7 separate regions of the Homo sapiens genome follow, and all the other regions are linked to region 1. Evidence: promoter capture Hi-C in 16 types of primary human blood cells and fetal thymus (Javierre and others, 2016). All regions are on one chromosome and are shown on one strand. The core of a region is centred on a gene start or on the middle of the fragment in contact, and the rest is flanking DNA. Distances in the headings are between cores, read along the strand shown.

Evidence for each region. Contacts are between HindIII fragments. The CHiCAGO score rates a contact against its expected background, and 5 or more counts as called.
Region 2: a contact is called between a fragment that was not itself captured here and the fragment with the promoter of LRRC4 in region 1, in 3 of 17 cell types (neutrophils, M2 macrophages and M0 macrophages). The highest score is 8.4, in neutrophils.
Region 3: a fragment that was not itself captured here is called in contact with the fragment with the promoter of LRRC4 in region 1 in 1 of 17 cell types (neutrophils); the score reaches 5.0 in neutrophils.
Region 4: a contact is called between a fragment that was not itself captured here and the fragment with the promoter of LRRC4 in region 1, in 1 of 17 cell types (M2 macrophages). The highest score is 5.7, in M2 macrophages.
Region 5: a contact is called between a fragment that was not itself captured here and the fragment with the promoter of LRRC4 in region 1, in 2 of 17 cell types (M0 macrophages and neutrophils). The highest score is 6.1, in M0 macrophages.
Region 6: a fragment that was not itself captured here is called in contact with the fragment with the promoter of LRRC4 in region 1 in 1 of 17 cell types (neutrophils); the score reaches 6.1 in neutrophils.
Region 7: a contact is called between a fragment that was not itself captured here and the fragment with the promoter of LRRC4 in region 1, in 2 of 17 cell types (M2 macrophages and neutrophils). The highest score is 6.0, in M2 macrophages.

The regions. Positions count from the first base shown.
Region 1 is chr7:128,029,515-128,033,338 of GRCh38, forward strand. It overlaps LRRC4 (leucine rich repeat containing 4), which reads right to left and starts at 1,923. Exons shown (of 2, transcript NM_022143.5): 1 at 1,399-1,923; 2 at 1-1,226. The coding sequence starts at 1,126. The region is part of intron 16 of SND1 (staphylococcal nuclease and tudor domain containing 1); the gene reads left to right. RefSeq lists silencers at 2,367-2,486, 3,137-3,206. The HindIII fragment of the contact is 11,709 bases long and covers 1,439-3,824 here.
Region 2 is chr7:127,784,868-127,788,691 of GRCh38, forward strand. The region is part of intron 10 of SND1 (staphylococcal nuclease and tudor domain containing 1); the gene reads left to right. Among named protein-coding and RNA genes, the nearest start is that of SND1, 130 kb to the left of the region's middle. The HindIII fragment of the contact is 4,854 bases long and covers 1-3,824 here.
Region 3 is chr7:128,274,532-128,278,355 of GRCh38, forward strand. No RefSeq gene overlaps it. Among named protein-coding and RNA genes, the nearest start is that of LEP, 35 kb to the left of the region's middle. The HindIII fragment of the contact is 4,130 bases long and covers 1-3,824 here.
Region 4 is chr7:127,802,948-127,806,771 of GRCh38, forward strand. All of the region lies in intron 10 of SND1 (staphylococcal nuclease and tudor domain containing 1), which reads left to right. Among named protein-coding and RNA genes, the nearest start is that of SND1, 150 kb to the left of the region's middle. The HindIII fragment of the contact is 4,814 bases long and covers 1-3,824 here.
Region 5 is chr7:127,823,817-127,827,640 of GRCh38, forward strand. The region is part of intron 11 of SND1 (staphylococcal nuclease and tudor domain containing 1); the gene reads left to right. Among named protein-coding and RNA genes, the nearest start is that of SND1-IT1, 170 kb to the right of the region's middle. The HindIII fragment of the contact is 1,722 bases long and covers 1,007-2,728 here.
Region 6 is chr7:128,233,668-128,237,491 of GRCh38, forward strand. No RefSeq gene overlaps it. Among named protein-coding and RNA genes, the nearest start is that of LEP, 5.7 kb to the right of the region's middle. RefSeq lists an enhancer at 3,428-3,567. The HindIII fragment of the contact is 3,169 bases long and covers 164-3,332 here.
Region 7 is chr7:127,840,830-127,844,653 of GRCh38, forward strand. It overlaps SND1 (staphylococcal nuclease and tudor domain containing 1), which reads left to right. Exons shown (of 24, transcript NM_014390.4): 12 at 3,495-3,595. Among named protein-coding and RNA genes, the nearest start is that of SND1-IT1, 150 kb to the right of the region's middle. The HindIII fragment of the contact is 1,974 bases long and covers 738-2,711 here.

The DNA.
Region 1 (3,824 bases), core at 673-3,172:
TCCGACACTTAAGTTCTGCCATCCGACCCTCAGAAATGTTGAGGTCTCGAGGTGCGTCCATGATGAAGGGGGCAGAGCACTGGAAGGAGGCCTGGTCCACCTCCACGAGGTAGCGGCCTCGCATGTGCATGGGAGCATGACAGCGGCCACAGCAGGTGGAATTGGTGGGTATATACTCTCGAAGCCACCAGGCTAGCCACAGAATGTCACAATCACAGTTCCAAGGGTTGTGGTGTAGATGCAACTCCACCAGGTACCTCAGCGGGGTAAAGAGGTCATGGGGCAAAGAAGAGAGGTTATTGTGGGCCAAGTTGAGTTCCACAAGTGAAGCCAGCCCGTCAAAAGCATTCCGCTCAATCAGGCTGACCTGTGAGTTCATGACCCAGAGCTTCTTGAGGGAGCTCAGGCCATGGAAGGAGCCAGGCCTGATCTCAGGGAAGTGGTTCCCTGACATCTCCAGCTCCTCCAGCCCCACCAGGGGGGTGAGATTGGGCATGTCTTTAATGTTGCACATGCCCAAGTTCAGATACTTGAGGTTGAACAGCCCCTCAAAAGCTCCCTCAGAGATATACTCCAGCTTCTTGAGCTCCCCCAAGTCCAGGCGCATGAGGGAGGGCACCCGGTTGAAGGCGTAAGAGGGGATGCTTTCGATGGGGTTGTTGCGAAGCCAGAGCTCCCGCAGCTTGGACAGGTATTCAAAGGCCCCGCTAGGGATGACTGTCAGCCAGTTGTCGAACAGCTCCAGGGTGTTGAGGCTGGCCAGGCCGTTGAAGGCCCCCACCTCAATCTGCCGGATGGAGTTCCTGCCCAACTGCAGGACCTCCAGGTGGTGGAGGTGGCGGAAGGTGTCGGCCTGGATCATCTGGATGTTGTTCTCCATGAGGTTGAGGTACCGGGTGTTCGAGGGAATACCCTGCGGGACCTCGGAGAGGCCCCGGCGCGTGCACACCACCTTGCTGAACTGGTTACTGCACGAGCAGACGGAGGGGCAGTTCTGGGGCCCGGCTGAGGCGGCAGCAGCGATGGCTGCACACAGAATCCACACTTGCGCCGTGAGGTAGACGAACGGGAGCAGGATGGCATTCCAGGTGTGGTGGTGCACAGTTACCTGCCACAAGAGCTTCATGGTGTGGCACGTTCATAATTCACCATCGCCTGGGATTTTGGCTCGGAAAGGAGAACCAGCCCTACCCCGGCTTAAGTGAGCTAGGAGCTCCTCTTTCCATCTGGAGAAGGAGGTGGGGAGGGGGCGATTAGAGAGACGGAGCGGATCGGCCGAAAAAAATCCTGCCAAACTCGAGCGGCCCCTGGTCTCCCAACCCACCCTCAAGGCAAGCCCTCCGAAAGCTACGACTCTCCCACACTGCAACCGTCCCCACCCAGTTCGCCGTCACCTACCTCGGAAGGAAGGCAGGAAAGCACTGGCGTGGTGTCCTTAAGCTTTCTCCACGGGAGCTGGGCACCTCGTTCCCATTCCGACTTCTTAGTTTTAATTAACAAAAGGGGGAAGTGGTGGGGGCGGGGAGGGCAGAGGGGAGGGGAGGGGAGGGGAGGGAAGGGGTGGGGGAGACAAAATGGCCTCTAGTAAATCCGGAGCCGGAGCCGGCGAAGCCGCGGAGTTGAGGCGCGCCTGGGAGAGCCAAGGCCCGGCGGGCTATGCAGGTGCATGCCCCCCCCTCCGCCCAAGGAGCGGCGCCACCAGCGCTTCCCGGCTTTGTCCTTGGACCCTGGCACCGGCTCGCTCCAGCCGCGGGGGAAGGCGCTTCATCGCCAAAGTGCGCTCCGGCGGCCCCGGCCCGCTCTGCGGGCCGCCGCCGGAGGGAGTGCGGGGGCGCCCCGAAGCCGCCCAGGCCGCACTCGCTGGATGCTGCGCTCCCTCTCCCGGCGTCGGCCGCTCCGGGCCGGCGGCAGCTGATTGCGGTCGTGAGCTCGCGGAGCGGCGAGAGTTAAGAGGAGGTGTTCGCGGCGCCTTCGCCCTCCCCAGACACACACCCCCTTTCTCCTCGCCTCTTCTCGGAGGGTGGAAGAGACAAAAACGGGGGGTCAGTTCTCCAGTCCGCCGGCTGCCGGCACGCGGGGCGGCGCTCCGTCCGGCCCCCGAGGACCAGCGGCGTGGCGGCTGCGCTCGGACCCGGTCCGCCGGCCGGAGGAGCGCGCGGCGCCCGCGGTCGCGCCCGCACCGCAGGCCCCTTCAGAGAGTCCGGGGGCGGGCGCGGGTCCGGCGGCGGCGGCGGCCGCAGCCCCCGGCGGCGCGCAACCGCCCGTCGCCGCCCGCCGCTGCCCGGCCCCCGGCGCGCCGCCGGCTCCGGCTTTGTGCGGAGGGAGCGAGTTCGCGGCTTCGGCTCCCGGCGCCCTCAGTGGCCGCGCCGCCAGCGGACTGCTGCAGCGGCGTGAGCAGCGGGGGTCGCGGCTGCGGGAAACGCTCCGGAGCCCAGGAACATAGTCCCCGCTGGCTAGCGGCGGCAGCAGCAGCAGCGGGGCCCCTGCGCGCGGCGCCCACCGTCTCCTCCTCGCGCCGGGCTCGCGGTGTTGCAGGCGGCAGCCACGCAGACTGCTCTCTCATCCTTTTGTCCTTCAGTCAGAACGTGAATGTACTGCTGACGCATACTGTTCTGGGAGAAGATTAGCGTGATGCAGTGCTCTTATGTATTAGCGCCGCTCCCCCTCCGTCGCCTGCCTCGCGGGGTTAACGCCGGCGCCTTCCAGCGCCGCGCCGGCCGGCGCCGCGCAGCCCCGCGCCTCCGGCCGCCCGTCTTCCTCTTTCCTCCTTCCTTCCTCCTCTCTTCCTCTCTCCCCCTCCCCCCTCCCCCCTCCCCGGGCCGCTTCCTCCCCGCCCCCTCTAGACGAGCGGAGCGGGGCCAGGGCGAGCGGGCGAGCGAGCCGGAGTGAGCGTCAAGTGAGGGGCCGCGCGCAAGTCGCAGGCGTTCGCAGCTATTTTGGGCCGGTCGGAGGGAGCAGTTGGGTGGCCGCTGATAGGCTGGAGCGGCGCGGGGCTGCGGCGGGAGAGCCCGCGCCGGCCCCCGCCCTCCGGCCCGCACCCGGGGCCCCCTGGCTCTGAAGAGCGGGGCTCAGGGGCCCGGCGGCCCGCGGCGGGGCTGCTGCATTTGGCCTGCCTCTCGCCCGGCCCGCGTCATCCTCACCCCCGCTGACTGCTGACGGGGCGCGGACTCGCGTTCGGAGTTCGGAACTGCGTGGTGGGGACTCGGGGGACGGCGGCCGGGGCCACGAGGCTCCCAGGACCGAGAGCCCGGGCTTCGCTGCTGCACTGCCGCCAGCCCCTCCTTCGCTTTGCCTCACCCCTCCTGTGCTCTCACTGGGGCTTTAAATGAGGGTTTCCTTAATGAGGGTTGCGGGGGCGGGAAACAGTGGCAGGAATGACCAAGTGTGATGAGCTGGGGAATGGCAACCTGGGACAGCACAGAGGCCGGCAGGAAGGATTGAGGTGAACTCCCGGAGCCCACGACACAGCCCGTTCATTCATGGAGCTGCAGCCGCGGCTTCTCAGTCTTCGCTGGCCGGAGTCGCCCCTTGCTCCCCGCTGCCCCCAGAGAACTGGGGGAAGGGAGGCGGGCGGCTGAGCCCCCTGCCCTGTGAGCTCGCCAGCCCTTCCTTGGCTAGGACTCTGAGAAGAACTGCGTAGCAGCCAGGGGTAGCGATTGGGAGTGGGGGTGGAATTCTTGCTCCTATTTCTGGTAGGAGACCCTAAGGCATTTGACAGACTAGTGTAGGAGAAGGGGACTAGGTCAGCTTTTTCCCACCCCCCTGAAAAAAGACTGCCCCTTTCTCTGCCGACTGTGGGTGAGGCAATCTAGCTGAGCCCTGGG
Region 2 (3,824 bases), core at 766-3,265, 240 kb before region 1:
CCCATGATCATGAAAGTGGGGGCTGGCTTAAAGGAATGTTTTTTCTTGTTTTGTTTTGTTTTGTTTTTTGAGACAGGGTCTTGCTCTTTTGCACAAGCTGGAGTGCAGTGGCACAATCACGGCTTACTGTAGCCTCTTGACCTCCTCAGCTCCTGCCTTGACCTCCTGCCTCAGCCTCCCAAGTAGCTGGGACTACAGGGACACAGCACCACACCTTTTCTGGTAGAGATGATATCTCACTATGCTGCTCAGGCTGGTTGAGAAGTTCTGGCCTCAAGTAATCCTTCCACCTTGGCCTCCCACAGTGCTGGGATTATAGGAGTAAGCCACCATGCCCGGCCAGGAATGCATTTAGATTGACCAGTGGAAGGAAGGAAGGGAAGTCAAAGTAGAAATTAATTGGAAGATGAACAGCATAGAGAAACAAGGGCTAGTCATGAAGCCCTCCTCCAAGATTTTTTAATAACTGCTTGAGTTTTGTGGGATGATTCCTGAGTATGCAGAGACAGAAGTGATATTGATTCATCTTGTGAATTCTGATGCATGCTCTTCACAGAAGGAAAGAGAAAAATCTTATATGAGTTTATTAGTGGTGAGATGACATTCTTTAAGAAATACCATCCTTGATGGCCATTGGGGAACTTGAGCCATTTAAGCCTTTTGGCCTAAAAGTGATCTAACAATTCAATATCTTTCTGGGTGACTGTAATTGCTAGATGTTCGATAGTCATGAAATTTAGTTAGCATTCTTGCTGTTGAATTGATTCTTAGTGTTTATTTGCAAAACCTCAAATGTGTATCTAAAGTCTTGAATGCTTTCTCATAGTTATTCATTGTATACTCAGTAGATATGAAATATCAATTTTACAGGCTACCAAAATGGTATTTAATGGTGGCTGACAGGATAGTGTTTAAGGACAATATGTATTGGATACTTAAATTTTTCTATTACCTGATTCTTGGCACAGATCATTGAATTTAAGTTATACTGAGATTGCAGAAGATCTGCCTGCCTCAATAACCCCAGCTATGCTGCATGTTTATTTAGTCCTGGTTCCTTCCTGTGCCTTCTGCTTTCTAAGCATGTACAGAAGAAAATAAAACAATTATTTGGTTTCTACCTTAACATCTGCTTGCATCAGGAAAGATGTCTAAAAAAAATTTGAGGGACATTTTTGCGGACACTTCCTGAAGCCTGGACCAGTTTTATGTGATTTGTTGACATCCTTTTTTTTTTTCTTTACCCTTTTCTAATGCCTGCTTCTTCAATTATCCTTAAAGACCCAGGGTTTTACCACACTGCAACTTAAAATTTGAGGGTAAATTTGGTAAATCTTGAGCTCCTTAAAAGATGATCTGTTTTATACCCATTTCATTTTTCTCTTGAATTTCATTTTAAATTGATCGCTATGTATTTTAGGCTTATGCATTGCCCTTTTAATGGCTTCTTGGATAAAATACATTGTTCAGTTAGATAAGTAAAGAAGTCATCTGGATTACTGAGCATGACTCACTTAAAATCTCATTGGGAACAATTTCTCTGCCCACTCCTTGTTAACTATGTATTCTGCTGGTATGCAGAACTTAACTGTTCTAAAGAGTTAAAATAAGCCATGGAGATCAGGATTTGGGGTAACAGCCCTCCCTTCAAGACAAGGACTATGAGTTTCTTTACTCCACTTTTTCCTTGACTGGCTCTTGGTTTTCCTTATCCCTTTTGCTATAGATTTCTTTGCTGCATAGTGTTTTTTTGTTTTGTTTTGTTTTGTTTGTTTGTTTGTTTGTTTGTTTTTTGAGACGGAGTTTCGCTCTGTCGCCCAGGCTGGAGTGCAGTGGCGCGATCTCGACTCACTGCTAGCTCCGCCTCCCGGGTTCACGCCATTCTCCTGCCTCAGCCTCCCGTGTAGCTGGGACTACAGGCGCGCGCCACCATGCCCGGCTAATTTTTGTATTTTTAGTAGAGACGGGGTTTCACCGTGTTAGCCAGGATGGTCTCGATCTCCTAACCTCGTGATCCGCCCATCTCGGCCTCCCAAAGTGCTGGGATTACAGGCGTGAGCCACCGCGCCCGGCCTTGTTTGTTTTTAAGAAAGAAATTAGCATATGAGTTAAACTACAAGGAAGTTTGGAATGATTAATGGATGTGATATCCTGTACATAACCCATTTTTTAGTGGCTCTCTGAATAAGAAATCCCTTTGTGACTGGCCCAGATTGCATATTTGCTTGTAGTTTCTACCCCATCTCCTTGTGAGGGAACCTCTGGTACATACTTTAAACTTCTCATCATTGTCATCTGCTCATTGGCACACCTTTTCTTCTGTCTTTTTATGCTTTTTGTTTGTTGGTTTTTATTGATTTTCCTTTGTTTGTTTGTTTTTGAGGGGGGACAGGGCCTTGCTCTGTTACCCAGGTTATAGTACAGTGGCTGTATCCTAGCTCACTGCAGCCTCAAATTGCTGGGCTCAAGCTATCCTCCTGCCTCAGCCTCCCAAGTACCTGGTTCTACAGCTGTGTACTACCATGCCTGCCTAATATTTAAATTTTCATTGTAAAGTCAAGGTCTCACTATGTTGCCCAGGCTGGTCTTGAACTCTTAGGCTCAAGGCAGTTGCCTTCCAATTTTTAAGGCTGTGTAGCTTTCCTGATAATAATGGGAAGTTGGTTTTTCATTTGATCCTCTGAGAATCTGTTGATTTGTGTTGATGTTTTAATGTGCCACAAGTATTTCCTGTTAGCTGCCTGCAGATACAGAGGACTTTTGAAATTTTGCTCTTTGTTCCTTTTCCTTCTCTCTCTGTTCTTCCTTTCCTTCCTCCCTGGCTCCCAATTTGGATTAAAACTTAATGAGTAAGAGGCCTAAAAGACGTAAGACATTTACACAACTGTAGATTTATTATCTTTGAATTTTTGAAAATGAACTTTTAAAGGCTTCTTTTCTATTTTTTAAGGTTTTCAAGTCATGCCAGTGTCTGTGCAGACTGACAACTAGCACTGGGGGAGGGGAGGGGAAGAAGTTGCATTTATCCAAACATTTTCTGAAGGGATCTAACTTTGATTTCCTTTCTATGACCTGATTTAATGGAGACATTTCCACCTCAAAGGAGGATTTCAGGAATGCATATATTCTCACTAGTAGGCGAAACGGGTGCTGCTTTGATTTCTCACACCCTTGGTTGAATATGAATGTTACAATGTGGCATGTTTTCCAGGAATCATAGGGAATTGACCCATTTTATGTAACATTTACAGGCCGATGGGCATTTAGAGTTAGAAGGAACATCATTTAGATCTAGTCAACCCTTTCTCTCTCTTTTTTTAAACAGAGAAGGAAATGAAAGTCCAGAGAGATTAAGTAATTTTATTCAACAAATATTAATTGAGTGTATAACATGTGTCAGACTCAGTACTAGGTGCTGGAGGCTACAGAGATGAATAAGTTTGAGTCCCTGTTGGAGACAAATACATGGTTCCCAGATCATACAGTTTGTAATTAGCAGATTAGAGAATAGAATATTTATGAATCATTCATAATCCAGTCTTTCTGTATTGTGACAGAAATGCTCTCAGCTGTCCTTTTTTGTACCTTTTAATTTACTCATTTAATAAAGTCGATTTTCACTTTTTAAACAAAATAAAATCCATGTTCTCTCTTGACCCAATACCCTCCTTTAGCTGCCATTCTTTCTTGAAAGATTCGTGTACATTAATCATGTACATTTGATCAACTATGCGACCCACTAAAATCTGACTGAAACTGCTCTTGCTGAACTTCCAGTGGGCATGTTTTGGTCTTCAGAAATCGCTTTGAATGTTTTAAGTCTG
Region 3 (3,824 bases), core at 642-3,141, 240 kb after region 1:
TGAGAGGCTACACAGTGAGGCTTCGAGGTGCCTGTGCTGGATTCCCAGTGGACTCTGCCCAAGCTCCAGCAGATCTTGGTTTACTTTTTTATGCAGCACATTAGTTGGCCTTTCATGTGCCAGGCCTGGGTGAGGCCCTAGGGTACAGGAGTGAACAGAACGTAGGGAGTTTACAGTCCAGTAGGAGAGCAGCTTAGATCAATAGCAACCGTAGAATGTGATGAGGGCTATTCTGGGAGAAGTGAGCCTGCTATGGCATAAAGCAGGGGTCCCAGCCAAGCCTGAGGGTCAGGGATCTGGGTCAGAAAAGTGCCCCCCAAAGAAGGGATAATCAGACCTGAGGGCTGAGCAGGAGTTCTCCAGGTAGAGGGATGGAGGGGGCTTGCTGGGGATAGACGAACAGTGTTTTTAAAGTTCCCAGGCAAGAGAGAGGCCCTGGAACCTTGAAAACAGTATGTTCAGTGGAAGAAGCCAGAAACAAAGGGCCACATGCTATGTGATTCCATCTGTAGACAGTGTTCAGGATGAGTAAATCCATAGAGACAGAAAGCGGGTTGGTATTTGCCAGGGTTGGGAGAGGGAATGGGCAATAACTGCTAATAGGCAGAAGTTCTTTTTGGGGTGATAAAAATGCTGTGGAATGAGACAGCAGTGACTGTTGCACAATCTTGTGAATATATCAAGACCCATTGAATTTTGTACTTTAAAATGGTGAATTGTATGGTATATGAATTATATCTCAATTTTTTAAAAAGAGAGGCCCTGAGTTCCACTGAGCAACTGAATGAAGCGCAGCTCCCTTGGCATGAAAGGGGGAGTTGGGCCAGGCCAGATCACACAAGGTCCACTTCAAATGGACTTTGTGCTGAGGGCTGGGGGAACCAGTAGAAGGCTCTAAGCTAAGAGGTGACATGGTCAGATTTGCACTTTAGGAAGGTCACTGTGGCTGAAGTGTGGAGAATGCACTGGGTGGGGGATAGATAGACCAGTTAGGAGGCTGCTGCCCCAGTCCAGATGAGGGATCCTGGTGACCAGAACCAGTGGTAGCAGGGAAGGAGAAAAGAAGGCTTCAAGGGAGAGGCAGGAGCAGAATGGACAGCTTTGGTGATTGCTGGGTGCAGGGGTAGGGTGAGAAGAGTGGCTGAGGCAAATGGGACTGGGGACCACTGATTGTGGGAGGAGTGGGGAAGAGGGGCTGAGCTCCATGGGCTTGGGCCAGGTAGAGTTTGAGGCACCTGCAAGAGCCCCAAGGGGACTTGAGGAGGAGGTGTTCTGCTCCGGGGGTGGCACTGAGGAGACAGCCTAGATAGGCAGGGAGATCTGGGGGCGAGGCACCAGCAGGCAGGATCACCCTGCCCTGGGAGAGTGTGGGGGAGAGAGGGCCGAGGGCCAGGAAGAGCCCTGGGGAATCCCAAAATGTGAGGAACAAGGAGAGAGGAAGCAGAAACCAGGAACCAATCAGAAGAGAGGGCTACATGGGGGCCCAGAGAGGCAATGTCTTGAGAATATGGCAGTGCCAGCTATGCAGAGCGTCAATGGAGATCACACAGGTGGGATTCGGGGACAGTTCAGTTGCTTGGAGAACCTGAGGAGGACAGCTTCAGCACTGTGGTTGGACTAAAAGGAGACCAAAGTATATTGAGGAGGGAGAGTGGGGGAGGAAGTGGAAACTGGTTCTTGGAACAAGTTACTGAATGGGAGATGTGATGAGGGAGTGGGAAGGAGAGCTTGAGGGGGAGGCAGGGCAGACCTGGAGCATGGGCCTGGGAAGCACATCTGTTTGAATTCTGAGAGCCTGGGCCTGGCCATCATGGTGGCTTATGCCTGTAATCCTAGCACTTTGGGAGGCCAAGGAGGGAGGATCACTTGAGGCCAGGAGTTTGAGACCAGCCTGGGCATACTGAGACCCTGTCTCTATCAAAAATTTAAAAAAGAAAAAAATTAGCCAGGTATGGTGGCAAACACCTGTGGTCCTAGCTACTCAAAAGGCTGAGGCAGGAGGATCGCTTGAGCTGGGGAAGTTGAGGCTTCAGTGAACTATGATCACCCCACTGCACTCCAGCCTGGGTGACAGAGCAAGATCCTGTCTCAAAATAATAAAAAAAATAAAAAGAAAATAAAAAGAATTCTGAGAGCCTGGAGAGCAGGAGGGATAAACATTGGGCTGAGGTGTCTAAGGAAGTGGGGGGGCAGGGGTTCAGAATTCAGAGCACCAGGTGCTCTGGCCTCAGAAGGGAGGAGGGTTGGGGTCTTTTCTTCCAGCAGGAGGGTGAAGGCAAGCACAGACCTGAGGTGGTGGGCGTGCAGGTTTGTAGACTTGGAGATGAGGAAAGGGAATTGTCATGTGGGTACTATTTTGCCACAGAAGCAGGACACAAAGTCAAATGCTGAGGTTGTGGGGAAAACTGGAGGGGCTGACCAAACTTATGTCAGAACCTGCTGAGAGAGCCGTGAACTGGTTGTTAAACATAGCTATTTTTAAAAATTAAATTATAATAGATCCACGCAAATAGGCCCAACTGATTTTGACAAAGGTACAAAGGCAATTCAAGAGAAGAAGGAGAGCTCTTTCTTTCTTTTTCTTTCTTTCTTTCTTTCTTTCCTTCCTTCTTTCCTTCCCTCCTTCTTTCTTTCTTTCTTTCTTTTTTTTTTTTTTTTTTTTTTTTCAGACGGAGTCTCTCTCTGATGCCCAGGCTAGAGTGCAGTGGCGAGATCTCAGCTCACTGCAACCTCCGCCTCCTGGGTTCAAGTGATTCTCCTGCCTCAGCCTCCCAAGTAGCTGGGATTATAGGTGTGCACCACCACACCCGGCTAAATTTTGTATTTTTAGTAGAGATGGGGGTTTCACCATGTTGGCCAGGCTGGTCTCAAACTCCTGACCTCAGGCGATCCACCCACCTCGGCCTCCCAAAGTACTGGGATTACAGGCATGAGCCACTGCGCCTGGCCCTGGGAGAGCTTTTTCAACAAATGTTGGAGCAACTGGACCTCATAAAAATTAAAAAACTTTTGCTCTGTGAAAAATCTAGTTGAGAAGATGAGAAAACAAGCTACAGACTGGGAGAAAATATATGCAAACTACATATCTGACAAAGGACAGTATCTAGACTATATAAAGAACTCTCCAAACGCAAGAGTGAAAAAACAATATAATTTTAAAAATAAGCAAAAGACATGAACAGACTTTTCACTGAAGAGGATATGCAGATAGCAAATAGCATGCACATGAAAAGATGTTTAACATCGTTAGACATTAGGGAAATGCACAGCGAGCTATCACTGCACACCTACCAGAATGACTAAAATAAAAAATAATGATAAAACCAAATGCTCTCAAGGATGTGGAAAACTGAGGCCAGGCGTGGTGGCTCACTTCTGTAATTCCAGCACCTTGGGAGGCCAAGGTGGGTGGATCACTTGAGATCAGGTGTTCGAGACCAGCCTGGCCCAGCGTGGCAAAACCCCGTCTCTACCAAAAATGGCCAGGTGTGGTGGCTCACTCCTGTAATCCCAGCACTTTGGGAGGCCGAGGCAGGCAGATCACCTGAGGTCAGGAGTTTCAGACTAGCCTGGCCAACACGTGAAACCCTGTCTCTACTGAAAATACAAAAATTAGCCAAGCGTGGTGGCAGGCGCCTGTAATCCCAGCTACTTGGGAGGCTGAGGTGGGAGAATCACTTGAACTGGGGAGGCGGAGGTTGCAGTGAGCTGAGATCACGCCACTGCACTCCAACCTGGACAATAAGAGTGAGACGCTGTCTCAAAAAAAAAAAAAAAAGGTTATGGAAAACTGGATCACTTATCATGTATTGCTGCTGAGGATG
Region 4 (3,824 bases), core at 953-3,452, 230 kb before region 1:
TCACTGCCGCTGCCTTGATGTAATCTCTTATGATTTCCTGCCCAGATTACTATCATAATCTCCTAATTTGTTTCCTCTGCTCCATCCTTTTCTTGTCACAGTGTCTGTTTTCAACACAAAAGGCAAAATAATTCTTTCAAATGTGAAGTCAGCTCTGTGTCTTCATCTCCTGCTGCCTCCCGCTCCTGCATTCTGCTCTAGCTGCAGTGGTGGTGCCTTTGTTGCTAATGTGCATTGGCTGTTATCTTTGCTTTTCTTCCGATGACTGGGCATCCCATACCTCTTTGAGTTTTTGATAAAATCAATCTCAGTGCGGCCTGCCCTGATATTACAGCTGTGGCCCTGCACCCCTGTTCCCTTTCCTGCTCTCCATGTTCTTTTTTCCATTTCACTTATCCCTACTGTCAGTGCTTTCTTTGACTTTTCACTTCATTCATGATGTCTTTTCAGTACAGAACTTTTAAAATTTTAGTGGAGCCACACATTTCAACCTTTTTTAAATATATAATTTGTTACTATTAAAAAATTTTTATTTTTTACACTTTAAAAAATGAGATCAAATATACATATAAAATTTACCATCTTCACCATTTTGAGTGTATATCAGTGGCAATCAATTTATATTCTTTTTTCTGCCTTCATTTCTCCCTCATTTATAATAATCCTACAGTATCCCAAGGTCATTTAGTTTTGGGGTACAATGTTTAAGAATGGGCTAGGTAAAATTAGGCCTGAATGGGGGTTGAGAATAAGGACTTGATTCAAGTTCTCTTTCATTCCCTCCTAATGAACATTGGCCAGACTCCCAATTTTGGCAACCAGCCAAAAATACCTTCCTGAAAAAATGCTAGCTGTATCTTCAGATGCTGAGATGTGGATATTGGGCCTCCTTCCCAAACTGATGAGAGGTACAGATGACTGACGTTACCTCTTCCATCTCTAATGTGAGTCATTGCAGGGCCTACATGCAATGTCATTTCTCAGGATGAACAGTGATTACAGCACATATTGGTTTGTGTATTATCCACCCACGAGTTTATGAAGCAAGCATTTTTTCCTATTTTTATTTTTTAAAAAATATTTCCATGTAAATTAGAATCTAAACTAGACAGTTCTGTTTAAGCAGGCAAAATTCAGCTAAAGTCCTGTTTTCTGAGAATTGAGAATACATTCCATACCTCACTTGCCTCTTGGAGATTTCAAAGGCTTTTATATACCTGGTAATTTGCAGGAATTGCTTTTATTTTGTGGTTTCTCAGGGACTTCTAATATCTCTCTTGTAAGATGTTTGCAGATGTCAATAGCTACTAGCTCTGAGGGGTTAGAGTAACAAGATCATTCTGTGGTATCTTGTTTTCTGCTTGTGCTATTAGTTCTTTTCTAGCTTCATGAGAGACATATAATCAGACTCTGAAGGTGCCTTGTTTTTTATTGGGATGTTTGTTGATACACTTTTTATTTTCCTTCATTCTTTTGAGGGTATTTTGTCCTGTGGAGTGTCTTAAAAGCAAGATTCTTATTTAGACAAACATTTTCAAACATTTAGTTGTACCTCAACCCATAATCTTCATTTGAAGGCTCATTGGAACAGTGTTTCTTACCTTTTATTCCTAGTTTTGGAATTACAGCCAACTGACATTCCTTTCTACCTCTGTGCTGTTTCAGAATATGTGGGGAGACAGATGTAGCGGTGCATGCTTATAGTCCTAGCTACTCAGGAGGCCGAGATGGGAGGACTGCCTGAAGCCAGGAGTTCAAGACTAGCCTGAGCAACATAGTAAGACCCCATATCTTTAAAAAAAAAAAAATGTAGGTAAGTTGCAGGATTTTGGGTTCTGAGGCAAATCATAAGGCTATGTAAGGTCAGTGTCGTTATTTTGTTCAATTCATTTTTCAAAATGTTCACTTAGTCTTTAGTAATCACAGAGCTACCCTCAGAAAATAGAATGTCCACTGTTGTTTGGTGAATATGAGTACGCTGACACTTCTTTATTCCTGAGGGCTGGTTGTGATAACCATTGATTTTGTCTTTATTTAAAATCCTGTTTATTACCGGCACCTGGTATCTTCTGTCTGGCAAGCATTCTTACGTATGATTGAGCGCCATCACCAACTCTGCTTTACAGCTTATGTTACACTTGGCTCCTTAAGAGATCTCTGATTTGTAATCTATTTTTATAAAATATCCATAATCCTGTACATCTGTCCCTTGTGTTAACCAGGATTCCCCTAACCCAGGCAATTTCTATGCATCCCATTTCCTTTATTTTCTATAAGAAAACCTCAATGTTATTTTGTTCCTCTAAAGATTTTCATGTTTACGGTCATATCCTTCCCATTAGACAGTGATCATGACACACCTGGGCCTTGATCAGAGCTCAGCCACCCCAGAGGCTTCTATCTGGAGTATGTTGATTTCCACATATGATCTGGGAGAAGGAGCTACCTTAAGTTTCTAGAAGAGCACTGGAATGATGATCATTATGCCCTCTGCCCCCACTTTTTTTAACAGGAGGTAGAAAACAGCTGATTAGTGAATATGAAACTCAAATTTCCTTGACACTGAAAGTGTTATCTGCATTCTCATAAGAGATTTTCTTGGTCGTAGTCAATGAATTGAAATGTTTGTATGTGCTAGAGGCATGGAGGCTTAGTTTGCATCGAGGAGGAAGCATCTATTTCATAGATCCCCTTAACCATAATATCGACCTTAGGATGATTTTTAAATGGGGCATTGAAATGATGAAGGCTGTTTACTTAAGAGTAGCGGCTATTTAGGAAAAAATGTAATATCTGCTTTGAGTACAGTTTGGACTGCACAGAGGTGTCTTGTTTTGTCAGGTGCATAATAGGTGGCAAAGGTTCGGCCAGATTGGATAAGCATAGAGGATGTGGAATCAATGGTGTACATCTAGGGTAGGGGTTAGTCCTTGATTTTCTCCTGTCTTTCTATACTTTTTGCAAATATTTTCCTGGAGGTTCTCAAGTCTGCAAAGCAGTCCTGTTCTCCTAGCATACTTGATCTTTGTATATCAGTCTGCATGTTTCTTTGGAGCTACTTAAATCTAACTGTAGTTATTGAGTATGTACTAATGAGGGAGGTACTGTACTTGGCTCTGGGGAGTTAAAGAAAAACAAATGGGTCTTTTTTGTCTTGGAACTTATAGGCTTCTGGGAGGGAAACATTAAAGTGAAGTATACCAACTGGTGTAGTCAGGATCTCTTATTTCTTATACAAAGACAAAAGTCTCTTGACTTACGCATGTCATCATGACTCCACATTGGATTCCTACTCCTTTATCCTCCCTTTCTACACCATTGTCAGTTCCCGTTAATTCATTTCTTCAAGTGGTTCTCATCATCTCTCGGGCTCCTGTCCTTTCCTACTTCTGTTACCTTCATCTAGATAGACCCTCTTATATCATCTAAAAATGGCATTGCTTAGAATAGCCACCTCTTTTAGGAGAAGTCTGGGGCCTATGAGATAATGAAGTAAGTGTGTATGTGTTGACATACTATTTCTTCCTGCCTCTCTTCTTTTGGTTTTTCTGTTTTTTCCAACTTTAATTTTCCTCCTATTTCTTTACTATCCTGCAAACTCATATTAAATCTGACCTTGTCAATGAAACATTTCCTGATTACTTCTTTCCACTTCCCTGAACACTTATAGCATTTAGTCCCTAGTCTGTATCACATGTATTAGCATAGCACTTAATCAAAACACTTGTCCAGGTGTGATGGCTCAGGCCTGTAATCCCAGCACTTTGGGTGGGAGGCAGAGGCAGGTGGATCATTTGAGGTCAGGAGTTTGAGACCAGCCTAGC
Region 5 (3,824 bases), core at 618-3,117, 210 kb before region 1:
TTCAGATATTGATCAAATTTAGATAATATTATAAAGTGAGTTTATTTCTAATCCCATAGGTAGCATATTTTGTTTAAAGTGACCTTGATATTTAAAGTGAAAGAGAGATTTGTTGTGATTTATGTTATAGAGTGATGCATTTTATTTACTCATATCATAGTCAACACTTAAGCAATGAAGGATTTGCGCTGGTATTAAATATTGAGTATGACGACAACAAAATGAAGCAGAAATGCTGCTTTATTAAAAAATGTAGGCAAACTTTTTAAAAAAGTAAATAACTACTTTTGTAAATGCAGTGCTATATTTTTATACTATCCTTTTCCCATGGTGGTATCTTTAAGTTTCCACTGATTTTAAATAATACCCCTTTCAAAATTAAGTGCATATTGACTGCACTAGGTGATAGAAAAAAATCTGATTTTATATACATCCACAGCAATAGTGTTATTTGTCATCTCAGAAAACTTATCTACCAGTTCTTTTAATTCTTCAAGGAAAGGCAGTTGGTGCTTTGTTCTTGGGAAAGTATTGAGGTTTTATTTTGTTTTTATAAGCCATATTCCGTGATGTAGATGAAATCTGTTTTCTCTCCTTGTTCATTGGAGACATAACAAGTGTTCAAGGCCACCTCTGTGGTTTTCCTTCTTGCTACCTGATTCTTGATAAGTTGTTTATTCTAAGGACTGAAGCAATTAGGTTTGGGATCCATTTCAGCTCTGTATAGCCTAGAATGAAAATTCTGATCTTTATCCATTTTCATTGTCCCAATTACTTTATCTTTTCTTCTCTTCCGTCACTTCAGCAAGAGTAGCAGTCCCAGTGCTAAAAAAAAGATGGAGTATTCCTTTAATGTTTGCACATATATGAGACTCCTCATGCATTCTTTTTTTTTTCAGCTTGCTTTAAAAAATACTTGATGAGCAGTGGAATGTCATCATTTTTAGTAGTTCTAACCATTTTGCTGTTGTTTACCATCCTGTTTTCTTAGTTCCTGACCTTGGAAAGCTTTACAAACCTCTAATCTTCATCTTCTTTGTGACTAACCCCATTGTCTTCCACCTCAGATGGTGTATTTGCCAAATTTTTGGTCTGTTTTCTGGAATGTATGTACAACTATAATAGTTTTGTTACTTGAAAGGGAGTAGAAACATGTGGACACCGAATAAAAATTGGTGGGTTGATTACAAGCCAGCTGGAGAATTATATGTAGGGAATCTAATCTCCCTTATTGACAGTAATATATGTGTCACTGCTTTTTAGAAATGACAGTTACTAATGTTACCTTAAAACATATATTTTTTTTAAATAAGAGACAGAGCCTTGCTCTGTCACCAAGGCTGGAGTGCAATGGCGCGATGTGGGCTCACTGCAATCTCCGCCTCCCGGGTTCAAGTGATTCTCCTGCCTTAGTCTCCTGAGTAGCTGGGACTACAGGCGCATGCCACCACACCTGGCTAATTTTTGTATTTTTAGTAGAGATGGGGTTTCACCATGTTGGCCAGGATGGTCTCAATCTCCTGACCACATGATCCACCTGCCTTGGCCTCCCAAAGTGCTGGGGTGACAGGCGTGAGCCACTGCTCCTGGCCACCTTTTTTTTTTTTTGAAACTGAATTTTGTTCTTGTTGCCCAGGCTGAAGTGTAGTGGTATGATCTTGGTTCACTACAACCTCTGCCTCCCAGGTTCAAGCAATTCTTGTGCCTCAACCTCCCGAGTAGCTGGGATTAATAGTGTGTGCCACCATGCCCAGCTAATTTTTGTACTTTAGTAGAGACGGGATTTCGCCATGTTGGCCAGGCTGGTCTTGAACTCCCGACTTCAGGTGATCCGCCCACCCCGGCCTCCCAAAGTGTGGGATTACAGGCGTGAGCCACCGCACCTGGCCAGAACATACCTGAACCATGAATATCTTCCATGTCTCTTCTGTATTTTTTTCTGATTATAAAAGCAATATATGTTTATTATGCTAAGTTTGGCAAGTATAAAGGAAAAATAAAAGTAATTCAAATAACATTTTGGTGTATTTTCTTTCACTTATACATTTATATTCTAATCTGTCTGTGTGTCCTTTTTTAAAATGGACAATGGAGGCCGGGCGTGGTGGCTCATGCCTGTAATCCCAGCACTTTGGGAAGCCGAGGCGGTGGATCACCTGAGGTCAGGAGTTTGAGACCACCTGGCCAACATGGCGAAACCCCCATCTCTACTAAAAATACAAAAATTAGCTGGGCATGGTGGCAGGTGCCCATAATCCCAGCTACTTGGGAGGCTGAGGCAGGTGAATTACTTGAACCTAGGAGGTGGAGGTTGCAGTGAGCCAAGATTGCGCCACCACACTCCAGCCTGGGCCACAAGAGCGAAACTCAGTCTCAAAAATAAAATAAAGTTGACAGTGGATTCTGAACATCTCCTCACATCCTTAAATAAACTTTTATGTATTGATTTTAATGGCTTTATGTTATTTTATTCCATGAGTATATAATTTATTTAACTGGTGTATGTTCATCTTATTTTTTTTTGAACTATGGTGATGTGGTTTTATTTTGTTTTAATAAACAAGCCATACTGTATATTGGTATCAACTAGATTCACTAAGCCCTACAAAATTATAGTCATCTAGATTTGAGAGGATGTAAAGATTAGAAGAGTTAAAGACAAAAATCTTCTATGTCTATTTATTGACAGTGTTGAGCACTTTCTTACATAGGATTTGGTCATTTAAGAAGCTTGATAGATTTTTCCCATCCTTTTATGTCCTTGTATTTTATCTCATTGAAAAAGTCAACGTTTTTTGTTTCCTGGGGTTTTACTTCTCTCATATTAAACCTTAATTTCATTCCCTTTTTTATCTTAAATACCATTTAGCCTAGGTACTAATGATTAATTTATGATTCCCTTATTTTAAAACAACATAGCAACAAATACTCCCTTTTTTAAATTTTTAAAATTTTTGACGTGCTTTTATATAGATCAGCAAGAGGTATAGCTGTAGAGTGGATAGTTTTGGAGAGAGCCAGAGTCATTAACAGAATTTGGAGGTCTCTGTATGTCAGTCTTCTTGTGGACCACCCTCTTAGCCATCTCCCTGTGTCATTCATTTCTTTTAAAGGGTAGCTTCTAAAATGACTCCAACTTGGAAGGCCCTTGGGCTGGCCTTTCCAGACTGAAGTTCAATCCAGGCATAAAATAGACTTTCTTTATTGAAATGATGTTGATACTATACCTTTTACGTGGTTTCCTATCCTCGCACTTCAGATATTATTCTGATATTTAGGATCTTAGTTATAACTCTTTTAGTAACTAGATGTTTAAACTTGGGGAAGCCACATAACTTCTGAATCTGTTTTCTCTTACAGTGTATGAGTGCTCTAGGTGATAACTGTGGCCCTTTTCATTCTGATTTAAAGTAAAGCTTTCATTTTAATTTATCCCTTAAAAGCTCACTTAACCAATTAAGAGTTGGAATTTAAAATGAAATCTTCCAATAATTAAATCGTTAAAAATTTAAATATTGATCATTTTTTAAAATTAATTTTTCCTATGCAGATACATTTTGTGTTTACTGTTTTATAACCTAGCCTAATTGCAAATTATGACTTTGCAATTTATATTTCACATCTCTTTCAAAATACCCCTTTTCATAATTTGGGGGCAAATTGTTTAGCTTCTGTGAATGATTAATAACTCTTGTATTGTCATTGTAGATGTTATTGATGTATCTTTCCACCGCTCCCCAGCCCTATTAACTATGGATTGTTTTTCTAGACTTTTTAGCCCAGACTTATCATTGGATATTACTTAATTTATTCTATTCTTATGT
Region 6 (3,824 bases), core at 498-2,997, 200 kb after region 1:
AGGTGTGAGTCATCCAGCCTGGCCTACGAGCAGGTTTTTGAGCTGAAAAGAGTCTGTCCTTTCTGGATTCTCCCTCTTTGAGGCACCTCATTCACCTCAGTGGAATTATTCACAGGGTTCCACCAGTAATCCTTGGGTTCCCTGACTCTCCAAAAGGCATCTAAGCTTCCTGGCTTCATATTGCCTGACTCTACTCCCTCCCACATTTCTTTGTCCCAGCTATTTAACTTCAGCACTGGAGGAATCTCCAAGGTGCTTGAAGAGTTCTGCCCAGCTTCCCGCAAGGCTGTGCCTTCTCAGGTCATCGAGCAAGGAAGCCATCCCTGAGAGTCTCATCCGAGAGCCCTTGCAGTGGGCATCCAAGGCCATAAATATTTGCATGCCTGTGAACCCAGCTTTCAGAAATGATCTTAAGGAAATAAGCATGAGTATTTGCAGAGATTTATCTATAAGATTATGCATGAGAGCCTTATTTATAAAAGAGAAAAATCATTGAAAATGACCTAAATTTTCATTCATAGAGTTTGACTAAATAATTTATGGCATATTCACACAATGCAGGAGTTGTAAATTACATCATGGAAGAATATTTAATGACATGAAAAGAAACTTAAGGCATTTGCAAAATACTGTGTACTACATGATACTATTTCTGATAGTAAAAAATATATACAAACGTAGAGACACAAGGGAGAGAGAAAAGTCATGTATCAAAAATATAAAACTTTCATGATTTCAGGGTAGTGGATTAATAAGAAATTTTAATTCTCTTTTCTGGATGTTTTCTATGATGTTCACTATTTGTTTAATCAGAATAAAAGATACTCTATTTTTGAAAATGATATCTCCTGGCACAGGACAATGATTCCCATCTGAGGCACATGCGGGTAGGAGGTGGGTGCTGGGGAGCTGCACTGCTTAGGCCAGGAGAGTCCCCCTGAGCTCCCGGCTGCTGGGACACACTTCTCAGCCATGCCCTCCTCTGCAAAGTGCCATACAGCAACCCTGGTTATGCAACAAGCTGCCTCGGCCCTGGGCAAACAGATCCTCTGACTCCTCGGCTCCATTACAGGCCATAATGGGACAACCAGACCTCAGGCCCGATGGTTGCATAAAAGCAGGATGGATAGATTTTTCTGGTCACTGTGTTCCACCCAGCTGAGCAGGCATATTCAGACTCCTTCCCTGCTGTACTGCTTAGCTCATGCGAAGCAGGAGCCTTCTTCAGGCAGCCTTCCGGACTAACTCCACTATGCCGTGTGCTTCAAAAGCCCCTGCTCTAATCCATAATGAACACTTGCAGAGTACTCTACTTGTAATAATCCAAACGATTCTCATGACAACACTATAAGTGGGTACTGTGATGCTTTTGTGACAAATGAAGCAACGGAGGCAGAGAGAGCACAAGCGATTACCCAAAGTACTATGCAGAGCCAGGATTCAAACCCAGGCAGTGCAGCCCCAGGGTCAGCCCGGAAGACACCACGCCATGCAGCCCCCTGGCAGATAATTGCTATCACAGCCACATTTGCATGGTGATTCTGAGTTGTTTCCAAATTTTTGCTGGAAGACTATGGATTCCTCGAAGGCATGAATTGTGACTTTCACTTCCGTGGGACCATCCAGGGCCCAGCAGAGCACTGAGTGCACAGGGCCTTCCCAGGGGCTTGCATTCTCGGCTCTGAAGCCCGCCTTCTTTCCTACTCCAGCTGCAGGTGCAAGTGGTGAATCCTACTGAGCCATAATCTTGCTGCTAGAGGCTTATCTAGAGGTGCTTATGCAAGCAGTCTGGCAAAACACCTCTTTAGGGACAAACGTAGAGCTGGAGACTTGGGACGCCTCAGGATGTGTCAGATCACAGCTTTCTGCAGGGCACAAGGCTTCTTGCTGCTTCTCCAGAACATCTCTCCAAATGCCTGTGCAGCCCTGGGTACCTGGGCAGGGTCCAGCTCTACAAAGGATCATGGCTCGAGTCCTTCCGCTCCAATGGGAAAGACCAACCAAGTGAGAGAAAGAGCATGCCGCCCAGAGGGGGAGCTGGTTGCCATTGTCCTCTTGGCTGTCATTTGTTTCTTCAGGGTTTCCAGGCTGGCTTCCAACCGAGGATGTAAGAGGCTGTTACCAAGTCCAGGCAGATCAGCACAAACATATTAACAGGGGTTATCTCAGCGTGGTGTGATGAGGGATGACTTTTTCTCATGGCTTTGCTTCTCTGCCTTTTCTAATTTTCTGCAATGCACATGATTATTTGGGCAATTAAATAATTACAGGGAGGGGAAAGTCACTGTTCTTGCTTTGTCCCTTGCAGGACTCTTTCCCCACACTTATATGGGCTGCTAAGCTCCAATGTGCCCTCTATTGCATGTGGCTTCCACCGAGCTCTTTCTGATCTTCACACCAGCAAACTCCCATCTCTACTCTGTCCTTTCCACACCCTTCACTGTGTACTGATCTGCTCAAATCCTTGCAGATTATAAAATGTTTCACTGGCCCGAGCCTGCTGGTCCCCACAACCCTGATTTCAAAAGAAGTCATCTTTTGTGTCCTTGCAGAGCGTGCCTGGATTGTGTCTCTATCCTTGGTCCCTTACCTGGACTGTAGCCCCAGTTAACTGCTGAATACCAGCAGCTGGGTGTCCTCAGCAACCATGTCCACATGAAGCATCTTAGTCTCACCCACTCCTTCTGTGTCTCTACGAGCAGCATTGAGCTGTAGATGGGAAAGTGTATGGAAATATGATCACTTTTTCCCTAGGGCAAAGAGGGTTGGTGTTCTTTTCTTCAAAATTTATTTTGAATCTGTCTTTTCTGTCTCCCCACTACCCCTCACTCATGCTCCTGAGTCACTGCTGAGCTCCAGGGCTGTACCTTTCTCATTTTGGAATCTCTAGGATCTAGCATAGTACCCAGTGCACAGTATGCCTTCAATGTATGCCTCTTGGTTCAATGAATGAATGCATGAAAAAATGGGCAAATAAGTAAGTTTTAATAATTTGTCACCTTGATTTTTATTTCTTGCAATCCTTCCTGTATTTCTTGCAATCCTTGTTTTATTCCTTGCAATCCTTCCTATATGTCTCTGCCAGTTGAATCTTCCAAAGTGGTGACTCGACCACGTGAATCTCCTCTGGTGACTTTAATGGCTCCCACTGTCTGCGAAGGCCTTTCAAAACCCAGCTGCTTGTTACCTTTCTTTGCAAGGATTTTCTCTCTCACTCCTCAAAGCTCCATTCTGGCTGACTTGGCCTCTCTGTATCCTTTCCTGCCCTTGTTGAGTTGCCCTTTTCTCTGTGTAGCCACTTAGCTGCCTGTGCTGATACTTGCTGCTGGCTAAGCTTGTCATAAGTTCAGTGTGACACCCTTTCCCGTGATGGGCTGATTACAGTAAGGTCCCAATCTAGTGGTGCCTCCCTCTATTGCTGGGTTGGGTAATCTCCCAGTTACTCTGGGTTTGACCATGTGACTTGCTTTGGTCAACAGGAAACAGGATGTTAGCAGAGACTTGAAAAGTGCTTGCTCATTGGGGTTTGCCATCTTTTGCTGCTCTAGGGAATCCAGCAGCTGTCACCATGTAAACAAGCCCAGGCTAGACCAGTTACCCTCATCATCTTAGCTGATAGCCAGCCAGCCACCACAGGCATGAGTCAGGCCATATTGCTGGACCCACAGAATTATGAGCTAAATAAATAGTCTTGGGTTAAGCCACTAAGTTTTAGGCATAGTGTGTTATGTATCTCACAAACATATAAGACTGTGTGTTTGTTGACTGGAGGAAGAGATGCTATAAAGACCACCTTTTAAAACTTCCCAAATACTGCCACTGAT
Region 7 (3,824 bases), core at 475-2,974, 190 kb before region 1:
CTCATTTGTATTTCAGATTTTCTTTAATAATGTTGCATCCACAAATAACTGTTTAATCTCTGACTTATTTACAGTTCTTATTCTCTTGATATGGGAAACAATTAATTGGCAGGTGAATGTAGTTGTTTCTTTTGGTTATTGAAGATTAAAATTTTTTTGTCTTCCCACTGATTTCCCTGGAAGACAGTTTTGGAACAGCACCTCACTTTGGCCTTCTGGCCTGAGAGATACACAGGTGTTCACTTTTGTTTGTTATTCCTCCTATTATTACTCCCACACATGTGGCATAGTGAATTAGCCCTCTTGATGAATTAGCTCTCTCTCTGGGTTGAGAGCTAATGTTCCTCTGTGCTAAACAGCTGCTGTCCCACCCCTGTCTGCCTACTGAGAAGGAGATTTGGCATTGGGAGGCACAAGGTAACCTTGAGATTAACTTAGTTTTTTTTTTTAAGCAGTGCTGATTTTTTCCCTAGGTAGTAGAATTGAGGGCTTGAGCTTGTTAGATGGATTGGGTGAAAACACGAAAGATACATGGACCTCGTTCCTCATTTCCACATATTTATTAACTTCCCAGCGAATGCCCCCAAATTGGACCATACCCTGTGGCCTTGTCCTATTTAAAATGGGCCCTGAGATACTTTACATGGTATAGCCACCTTCACTGTCTACCTTCTGTACACTCGTGATTTTTTGCCATGACTCCAGCTATCTTGTTGTTTTCCTCACCTGCTTCTATAAGCTTGTTGTGAGGCCTTGTCTGAGGAGAGTTCCAGGGTGTATTAGCATCAAGACCACTTCTTCCCTTCCCTGGTTCTGAGTTACTCAGGCCTGTCTGTGTGCAGCCCTCTCATTCCTTGCCCTTTTTTTGGCCTATATTAACTCTGGCCAGCAGCATGCAGGGAAAGTATTAAAAACCTTTTTGTTGGAGGGCACTAGTTGTTCAATCCCCCTGTCTGAACACATTTCTCACATTTTTACTCATTTCCTGAGTTTTATAGTAGTTGTTAAGACCTTGCAATAATTTAAAGCTAGGTATCTAATTTTAGGAGTCATCTTTATATTTTCTTACTTTCTGTGTTGTTGTGCTATGACCATACTTCTCATAAGAATGATTTACCTTAACCTCAGCCCTTAATTGGCTTGGGCTCTGATATGGCTCCATTCTGCTGCTTCTAAAGCATGATTCAATGGAGTGTTCAAGTGGGTGATCTGACAGTTGGAATTTTGAGGCATCTATCCTTTTCCAGATTTCCATGTTCATTTTCAAGATGAGTTTTTGAAGAGAAGACAGTTTGAAAGGATTTTAACGGTGCTCACTAGCAGTGTGGCTGAACTCCATGCTTCTGCAATATGCTGTCTTTAAGCTGATCAGTGAGAGCTGAAGATGTATTTAGAAAAGGGATTCCAGACTGTGGAGAAGGCTTCCGTCTCCTTGATCCCCATGCACCTCTTCAGTGTGGGTTTGTAAACCTTGGTTTTGACCCAAACCAAGCCTACAACTTCATTCTGTGAAGACTTGCCCTATATGTTTGCTACAGGATACTATGTTTATCTTCAAAGTTTTCATAATAAAAAAGCATTGTTTAGTGTGTTCATATCCATTTATTTAGTGTATTCTAGGGTTAAACCATTTTTGCATTTTGTGCGTCTAACTTCCTGTCTGCAAAATTAATTCAAAATCTAAGGATTCATCTAGTCCATTCTATCTCCCCTACCTGCACACTGCTTAACTCTCAAGTATGTTGGTGTTGGGCTTAATTAGCTGTATCTTTTTGATTTACATACTGTGAAACCAATTCCAAGCATCTTTGTAATTGTTATCTTGTTTGTTCTTCTATGTATTTATTTATTTATATTTTTTATTTTTCAGAGAGATGGGGGTCTTGCTTTGTTTCCCAGACTGGTCTTGAACTCCTGGCCTCAAGCAATTCTTCTACCTGGGCCTTCCAAAGTGCTGCAGTTATAGGAGCAAGCTATTGTGCCCACCTTGTTTGTTGTTCTTAATAACTCTTAATCTGGTCCTTAGGAAGCTGTGACAGACAGATTATATGGAGTTTTTCTATGGAGGCAGTTCATATTTTTAAATACAGGTTTTCAAAGTAGTCTGACCCAGAAGAGGTTAAAGCACTGCTTTATCATAATGTCTAGGAGTCCAACAGGAATGTTGCAAACCTCTTCTCTGTAAAGTAAAATTGCTGTGGGGACCTATGTGTTTAGTTGTTTGATTTACATCTTTGGTTATCAGCTTTTTTCTTTCTTTTTAAAATGGACTTTTTTTTTTAGAGCAGTTTTGGATTAACAGGAGAATTGAGCAGAAGTTACAGAGATTTCCCATATACCTTCTGCCCCCTACACACAATCTTCCACACCAGAGTGGTATATTTATTACAATTGTTGAGCCTACCTTAACACATCATTATCACACAAAGTCCATAGGGTTTGTGCTTGGTGTTATATCATCTGTGGGCTTTGATATATGTATAGTGGCATGTATTCACCACTATAGTGTCGTACAGAATAGTTTCATTACGCTAAAAATTCCCTATTCTCTGCCTATAACTCCTGGCAAAATTCCTTCTCTCCTTCTAACTCCTGGCAACCACTGATATTTTTATTGTCTTTGTAGTTTAACCTTTTCTAGAATGTCGTATAGTTGGAATCATACAGTACACCTTTTAAAGTGTCTGCTTTCACTTAGTAATATATGTCTAAGCTTCCTCCATGTCTTTTCATGGCTTGATAGCTCATTTCTTTTTATCACTGAATAATATTCTGTCATCTGGATATACCACAATTTATCCATTCACCTACTGAAGGATATATGGATTCCTTCCACATTTTGACAGTTATGAACAAAGCCACTGTTAATATCCATGGGCAGGTTTTGTGTATGTTTTCAACTCCTCAAGTAAATTTCAAGGAGCTGTATTCCTGGATCAAATGGTAAGAGTACATGTTCAGTTCTATAAGAAATGACTAAACTATCTTCCAAAGTGGCTGTATCATTTTGCATTCCTACCATCAATGAATTAGAGTTCCTATTGCTCCACATCCTTGCCTGCCTTTGGTGTTGTCAGTGTTCTGAATTTTGACTATGCTACAACGAGCAGTGGTATCTCATTGTTGTTTAAGTTGGCAATTTTCTAATCACATGTAATGTAGAACATCTTTTCCTGTTCTTATTTGCCACTTGTATGTATTCTTTAGTAAGCTGTTTGGATCTTTTGCATTTTAAAATCAGGTTGTTTTATTATTGTTGAGTTTTAAGAGTTTTTTGTATATTTTAGATAAATGTTCTTTATTAGTTATGTCTTTTGCCAACATTTTCTCCCAGTCTGTTGCTCAGCTATTTCTTTTAATTGGTTTTAAAAATCTTAGATTCAGAAAACCAAACTGGAGTGAGCTGATCTTTCACAGTTGAGCAGGCACATGTGGCTGCTAGTGAGCTATGTTGCAGACTCTCAACCCTAATTCCCTTGATTCTTTGTTTCCAGGTCAATGTGACGGTGGACTACATTAGACCAGCCAGCCCAGCCACAGAGACAGTGCCTGCCTTTTCAGAGCGTACCTGTGCCACTGTCACCATTGGAGGAATGTGAGTGTTCTGGCTGGCATGGACTCAGCTGTCATCTCAAGTAGCTAAGAGTTCTTTGCTCATTTGAATCTTTCCTTCCTTTCACTCTGCTTTGCTTTCTCCTGCTCTTAACTCAGTGGTTTATAATTTTGTGCCTGTGTAGCACTTTATATTTGTAAGTACTTTATAATCACTCATTAGCTAATCGTATACTTTCATTATTGTAGTTATTTAAGATTTATTGGGCTCT